Regions from separate parts of the Homo sapiens genome. Here region 2 is linked to region 1. Evidence: promoter capture Hi-C in 16 types of primary human blood cells and fetal thymus (Javierre and others, 2016). All regions are on one chromosome and are shown on one strand. The core of a region is centred on a gene start or on the middle of the fragment in contact, and the rest is flanking DNA. Distances in the headings are between cores, read along the strand shown.

The links. The method cuts DNA at HindIII sites, captures the fragments that hold promoters and counts their contacts. A CHiCAGO score of 5 or more calls a contact.
Region 2: a fragment that was not itself captured here is called in contact with the fragment with the promoter of LRGUK in region 1 in 8 of 17 cell types (fetal thymus, total B cells, monocytes and 5 more); the score reaches 11.7 in fetal thymus.

What each region holds. Positions count from the first base shown.
Region 1 is chr7:134,126,021-134,128,589 of GRCh38, forward strand. It overlaps LRGUK (leucine rich repeats and guanylate kinase domain containing), which reads left to right and starts at 1,320. Exons shown (of 20, transcript NM_144648.3): 1 at 1,320-1,644. The coding sequence starts at 1,348. RefSeq lists enhancers at 1,173-1,222, 1,333-1,602. The HindIII fragment of the contact is 1,507 bases long and covers 230-1,736 here.
Region 2 is chr7:133,246,626-133,251,915 of GRCh38, forward strand. No RefSeq gene overlaps it. Among named protein-coding and RNA genes, the nearest start is that of EXOC4, 3.8 kb to the right of the region's middle. The HindIII fragment of the contact is 4,060 bases long and covers 340-4,399 here.

The DNA.
Region 1 (2,569 bases), core at 70-2,569:
AAAACGATCGAGATTTGCATTTTTACACTTTCTGCCTGATTCTTCCCTATGTCACTTAGCCGAAGCCAGGCCCTACGAGGGTAAGGGTGGGGAAAATTCCCTTGGAGGAATCTCTACTTATTGGAAAAAGAAATAAGCAAAAAGCAAGATGAGCCTGGCAGAAAGAGATATTTTGCTTGTGGCCTTTACATTTATGACTAGCAAGATAATGAAGGAAGGTAATTCTGAAAGCTTTATGTCAGTTTTAACGGTCCCTCAAGCACTGAGAAAGATAATCGTCAATGGATGGTGTCCATAAGGATTTTTTCTCCTTCTCCCCTGACAGCCATTGACAGGATCATTTTGTATTTGCAACTGCTGTCATTGAAGCGTGCAGAAAAGGCCCTGTAAGGCCAGAAGGATGAGGGCTACTTCCCTGCAAGGATCTCTATTGTCATCACTATGGCAATAATAGTTACTATAATTTTCATTCTGCTTTTCTATAGAGTGTCGACGTTGTGGAGCTTAAGGCTATGGGATTTGGGTCACATAAAATCACACTAGCATAAAATCGTGCTTTGTTATCTTGAAAGAGTATTTTTTTTAACTGCAAAGAGAGCCTGTGCAACAAGATTAAAATAATTGCCAATGCAGGTCACTTGACTAATATAATTATTTATGGGATGCTAATAGCTTTTCAGACGCTTTCAGATACAGTGTCAATTTGACAGCAGTTTTTTCTCTCTCTGTTTGGATTGTAAGACCACTGCCAGTTTTTCTCCCCAAGGACAAGGCTTATCATTGGGGGGTGGGGGTGGGGAATGTAAATTAATTGGAAATCAGCTCTCAGGCGTCGTCTGGTAGTTTCTCTTTATTATCTGCAATTAAATCATAAGGACAGGAACCATGCCTTCTATTTCACTTATATGCACCCTCATCTCCTAGCGTCGCGCTTTGCATAAATTTCAGTGGTACTAGCTTTCCTACAGACTGCTTTAGAGACATTAGACACTTCTAAAGTACGACTCTGCGGAAAGAGCCCTTTGGGAATGAAGCGGCAACGGTGGCGCACCTGCGATCCTATCGTGGGATGACAAAGCTCTAAGAGGGGTCTCAGGGTAGGGAGGAAACAGCTGGAGACAAAGAAAGGGGGTGTAGCGAAAAGAGGTGAAAACAGGAAAGATAAGCGAACAGAACAGACCAAAGAGAGAAAAATAACAGAAGAGACTGAGAAAAAGAAAAGTCAAGTGGAGCGCCCACTGCCCCGCCTGCAGAAGGCGAGTACGCGCGGAGGAGACTACAGGCCCCAGAATCCTCCGCGGTTCCCCTTGCCTGGGGTCAGTCTCCTAGGCAACCCCGCTAAACAAGATGGCGACCTCCGAGAGGGCTCTCCTGAGGACCAGAGCTGCCTCTCTCCTGAGAGGCTTGGGCAGATCCCGAACTGGAGCCCGATCGTTACAGTTTCGCGCAGAAAAAGAGCGTCAGCCTTGCTGGTCTTTTCCCATGGGGCAGAAGACGAAAGGCAGCTCTAACATAGCCTCCTCCTACCTGCTCCAGCAGCTCATGCACCGCTATCAGGAGCTGGACTCGGACGGAGATGAGGACCAGGGCGAGGGCGAGGCGGGATCCGAGGAGTCCTCAGAGTCCGAAATGCTGAATTTGGAGGTGTGTCTTCCCCCCCACCCCGTACTCCCTGGCTCCCTCGTCCAGCCCTGTTACTTCAGCGGCAGCTCCCCGATGCACCCCCACCAGCCCGAAGCTTCCCACACCTTCTCAGGCTCTCTCGCCTCCAGGAACGCCTCTTCCCCCTCTTTTCTTCCCCTGTCTTTTACCCCGTTTTCTCACCCCCTGCCTGAAATAGCTCTAAATAGTTCCTTTCTTTTTTCATTAACACATTTGATTTCTTATGAGTCGAGTTAACACAGCGTCACTTTGTAAGAGTGTCTAGATAATTGTCTGGGAATTATGGCTTTAGCTTTTTCAAAATTATACTTTGACAGTATTGTGAATAGGCAGAGTTCATCTCTGACATTGCCAGCACCTGTTGCCCATGGCTATGACATACTTCCACACTCTTCCTCAGTTCTAGTCCCGTCAGCCTCCCTCCAGGAAAAAAAAAAAAAAAAAAATCCGCTTTTGAAAGTGCTTCTTCAAAGACTAAGTGACTTAAAAGTTGAATACATTACTTCTGTCGGGGGCATATGCCTTATACAAGCAACATGCACACACACCAGAAAAGAGCCTTATAATGTTCGAACAGCCAGCTCATTGTGGGAATATTTTAGGATGTGGGGAATGTTCCCATCATCCCACCCATATTGACTGGGATGGCGGCTTCGCGTTTCACATGACTGCCATTCCCTCCTTTCTACAATATCTCTTCTGACCACCACACAATTCCTCTTCTTTCTTATGCTTATTATGGTCCTTTTCCTTTCTTAGTCCATTGTTGTCTTCTTGTCCTTTTCCACTTCTCATCACATCACTTCTTTTCTCTTGGCTTCTAATAAATTGCTTTCTTTCAAAAGCGTAATTTAATTTGCTTCCTTTCTATTTTGTTTATGTTTTTGAGATGGAGTCTGGCTTTGTC
Region 2 (5,290 bases), core at 1,120-3,619, 880 kb before region 1:
CTATGCATTCAGTGTTTACTGAATGACGGAATTTGGGAGAGAAACTGGGGGGCCGTTGCAGCCTGAGCTCAACAGCAATCAGGCTTGCATCCCACAGAAATAAAAAACATTCCTCTTTCAATGAAGCTATCCTTTATTATGGAAAATAATATCCTTGACCAATTTCCTAAAACACTCAGAAACTCAAATGCAACATGAAAATTAAATCACAATTCCCCCATTAGACAACATAGGCTGAACCAGGTATTGGGAATATGGACAAGAAAATTAACAGCCTATTGTAATCTACTTATAACATTTTCCTCCAAATAGAATATACTATGGGTATATGTTTAACTAAGCTTATATTTATTTAATTCAATGTAATTGAAAAAGCTAACATAAAATTTAATTCCTGAATAAAATAAAACAGTTGCTTTTTCTATGATGACAGAGTCATTGACTTTTCCCTTCAGTTTATAATCTGTATCCTATACCTTGATTTACTCAGCCTTGGCTAAAGCACATTTTTAATATCTTAGCTGAGCTGACTTGTAAGCAGGCAATATTGATGGGGTCAGGGAAATAGTCCCTTTCCAGGGTTCTGGCCACATGGCTGATATTATGAGACACTTCATATTTTTTGTTTGTTTGTTTTCAAATCTCCTATGTCTGTGTTGGGTGTTCTATAGACACCCAAACCTGGGCAGTTTTTATGAATCTCAGGGAGCCACTCTGCTGCTGAGCTAGCCTCATTCACACATTTCATTTATCCACAATAATAAGAATATCAATACCTTGGATTTATATAGAGCCATTCATCCAAAGAGGTCAAAGCATTTTAATTTAATTGGATGTTCCCATGGCTTTAAGAGCCCCTAGGTATATTTACAAATGTAATATTAGGAAACGGTCTGCCCTGGTTTAGAAAACATAAAACAAGACCTGCATATATACTGGTTTTAGCCAGGCATGGTGGCATGTGCCTGTAATCGCAGCTACTCAGGAGGCTGAGGCAGGAGAATCACTTGAACTTGGGAGGTGAAGGTTGCAGTGAGTCGAGATCGCGTCACTCCAGCCTGGGCAACAAGAGCAGAACTCCGTCTGAAAAAAATAAAATAAAATAAATTAATTAATTTGGGTGTGCTAATTTATTTATCACTTAATTGTATTTCCATTTTGTGATGAAAGTAGGCCATTGTTTCTGACACTTATCCAATTCTCCTTTAAAGGAAGTACTTTTGTGTATTTCTGCTTATAAAAAGCAACACCTGGAAATTTTTTTTTTTTTTTTTTTTTTTTTTAGATGGAGTCTCCTTCTGTCACCCAGGCTGGAGTGCAGTGGCACAATCTTGGCTGACTGCAACATCCGCCTCCCTGGTTCAAGCAATTCTCCTGCCTCAGCCCCCAGAGCAGCTGGGATTACAGGAGCTTGCCAACACGCCCCACTAGTTTTTATGTTTTTAGTAGAGACGGGGTTTTGCCATGTTGGCCAGGCTGGTCTCGAACTCCTAACCTCAGGTGATCCACCTGCCTCGGCCTCCCAAAGTGCTGGGATTACAGGCATGAGCCACTGTGCCCATCCCGGAAACTTTGTAAAACACAGAAAAGTGTAAAAAAAAAAAAAAAAATTACCCATGTTATTGACGCTCAAAACAACTTTGCAATAACCCCAGAGATGTATTTTCAACAAAATTAGTACCATACTTTAGTAATAATAGCTGATATTTACCAAGTGCTGATAATGTATATCTCACATATTCTTACAATAACTCTCTATGTGAAGTACAATGACCACCTGCTTTACAGATAAAGAAACTGAGGCAGAGTAAAGTTAAGTAACTTGTCCTAGGTAATCTAGCCAGGAAGTGGAAAGCTGGGATTGAATCTAGGCCATCCTGCTACACAAACTGCATTTTTTTTTAAGGTGTGGTGAAAAACACATAACATAAAATTTATGACTTTTGACTACTTTAAAGTTTATAATTTACTGACCTTTAATACATTCACAAGCTATGCAACCATTGACTGTAGTTCCAGAACATTTCATCACTCCAAAATGAAACTCTGTATCCATTGAGCAGTCATTCCTCATTTCTTCCTGCCCTGCAGCCCTTGGCAACCACTGATCTGCTTTCTGTCTCTATGAATTTGTCTGTTCTGGATATTTCAGATAAATGGGGTTATACACAATATGGCCTTTTGTGTCTGGCTTTTTTCTGTTAGCATGATTTCAAGATTTATCAATATTGTAGCATATATCAGTACTTTTTTCATTTTTATGTGTGAATAATATTACATTGTATGGATATAGCACATTTTGTTTATACCACACTGATACAGTCATATTGTTGCAGTTCATTCATTGTTAAACATTTGGACTGCTTCCACCTTTAGGCTATTTTGAATGGTGCTTTTATGAATGTTTGTATACAAGTTATTTTCCGAACACTTGTTTTCAATTCTCTTGTGCATATACCTATGAGCGGAATTGCTGGGTCATATGGTAACTTTATGTTTAGTTTTTTAAGGAACCACCAAATTGTTTTCTGCAATGGCTGAACCATTTCACATTCCCAAAATAAATGTACAAGGGTTCCAGTTTCTCCACATACTTGCCAACATTTATTTTCCATTAAAAAAATTGTAACCAACCTAGTGGGTGTGAAGTGGTATCTCATTATGGTTTTGCATTTTCCTATAATGATTAATGATGTCGAGCATCTTTTTATGTGCTTTTTGGCCATTTGTGTATCTTCTTTGGAGAAATGTCTATTCACATCCATTGCCTAGGTTTTAATTTTTATTTCCTTTTGTGTTGAGTTGTAAGAGTTCTTCACATAGTCTAGATACAGAACTCTTACCAGATACTGTATGTGATTTGCTTTTATTCTCTCCCATCCTGTGCCTGTCTTTTCACTTTCTTGAAAAGTGTACTTTGATGTATGAGGGTTTTTAATTTTAATAAAGCCCAATATACCTATTTTTTCTTTTGTTGCTTATGCTTTTGATGTCATAGCTAAGAATCATGAAAATTTACCCTTGTATTTTGTTCTAAGAGTTTTATCTCATATTTAGGTCTTTGATCCACTTTTAGTTAATTTTTGCATATTGTATGAGGTAGGGTCCATCTTCACTTTTTTGCTTATGCTTATCCAGTTTTCAACACCATCTATTGAGGAGACTATTCTTTCCTTATTGAATGGTACTGTCAGCTTTGTTGAAAATCAATTGACTGTTTGGGTGCGGTGGGTCATGCCTGTAATCCCAGCACTTTGGGAGGCTGAGGTGGGCAGATCACCTGAGGTCAGGAGTTCAAGAACAGCCTGGCCAACATGGCAAAACCCCGTGTCTACTACTTGGAAGGCTGAGGCACAAGAATTGCTTGAACCTGGGAGTCAGAGGTTACAGTGAGCTGAGATTGAGCCACTGCACTCCAGCCTGGGTGACAGAAAGAGACTTCGTCTAAAAAAAAAAAAAAAGAAAATCAATTGATCATAGATGAATAGGCTTATTTCTGTATGGCTTATTCTACTATATTTATCTATGTGTTTATTTTTATGCAAGTACCATGCTATTTTGATTACTGCGGATTTTTAGTAAGTTTTGAAATCAGGAAGTGTGAGACCTCCACATTGATTTTTTTTTTTTTCCAAGATTGCTTTGGCTATTTGGGGCTCTTTTAATTTCCGTATGAATTTCAGGATCAGTTTTTCTGTTTCTGCACAAAAAGCCTAGTGAATTTTTATCGGAATTACATTGAATTTGTAGATAGCTTTGGGAGTTTGGCCATCTTAACAATATTGAGTTTTCCAACCCATGAACATGGATGTCTTTCCATTTATTTGAGTCTTCTTGTATTTCTTGCAGCAATGTTTTGTAGCTTTCAGTGTAGCAGTCTTTCACTTTCATGGCTAAGTTTATTCGTAGGCATTTTATTCTTTTTGCTGCTATTGGAAATGGAATTGTTGTGTAAATTTCCTTTTTGGATAGTTTATTGCCAGTTTACAGAAATACCACTGATTTTCTGTTGCTATTGATTTTGTATTCTGCAACTTTGCTGAATATTTTATTAGCTCTAATAGTTTTTTGTGTGTATTCTCTAGGATATTCTATATATAAGATCATATCATCCAAAAATAGATATTGTTTTATTTCTTCCTTTCCAATCTGGATGACTTATTCATGTTCTTGCCTCATTGCTCTGGCTATAACTTGCAGTACTTTGTTGAATAGAAGTGGCAAAAAAATGGTTATCCTTTTTTTGTGTCTAATATTAGTGGGAAGGCTTTCAGTTTTTCATCGACTATGATGATTGCTGTGGGTTGTTCATAAGTACCCTTTATAGCCTATAAGAAGTTCCCTTTTATCCCTAGTTTTCTGAGTGTTTTTATTGTAAGAGTGTTTTGGATTTTGACAAAGCTTTTTTCTGCAACAGTTGAGATGATCACACACTTTTTATCCTATGTCCTACATTCTTTTTTTTTTTTTTTTTTTTTTTTGAGACAGAGTCTTGCTCTGTCGCCCAGGCTGGAGTGCAGTGGCGCGATCTCGACTCACTGCAAGCTCCACCTCCCGGGTTCACGCCATTCTCCTGACTCAGGCTCCCGAGTAGCTGGGACTACAGGCGCCCGCCAACACGCCCGGCTAATTTTTTGTATTTTTTTTTAGTAGATACAGGGTTTCACCGTGTTAGCCAGGATGGTCTTGATCTCCTGACCTCGTGATCCGCCCGCCTCGGCCTCCCAAAGTGCTGGGATTACAGGCATGAGCCACCCGGCGCCCGGCCTGTCCTGCATTCTTAACCACTAGGCCCAACTGCCTCTCCCTTTCTCTATGAATTATTTAATTTTATAGCCCAGTTTTTGTACTTATACCATAAAAATCTTTTTTTTTTTTTTTTTTTTGAGACAGAGTTTCCCTCTGTTGCCCAGGCTGGCGTGCAGTGTGCAGTGGAACGATCTTGGCTCACTGCAGCCTCCGCCTTCTAGGTTCAAGCAATTCTCATGCCTCAGCCTCCCAAGCAGCTGGGATTACAGGCACACACCACCACGGTCCGGCTAACTTTTGCATTTTTAGTAGAGACGGAGTTTCACCATGTTGGCCAGGCTTGTCTTAAACTCCTGGCCTCAAGTGGTCTGCTCGGCTCTGCCTCTCAAAAAGTGTTGGGATTACAGGTGTGAGCCATCACACTTGGCCCAAAAATCTTATTTTCTTTAAAAGCCATTAAAATTATGATTTCCAGAAGCTATATGTTATTTCCTCATTTGAATGTTACATAATTTATTTAATTCTTCTGTGTTATTTAAAA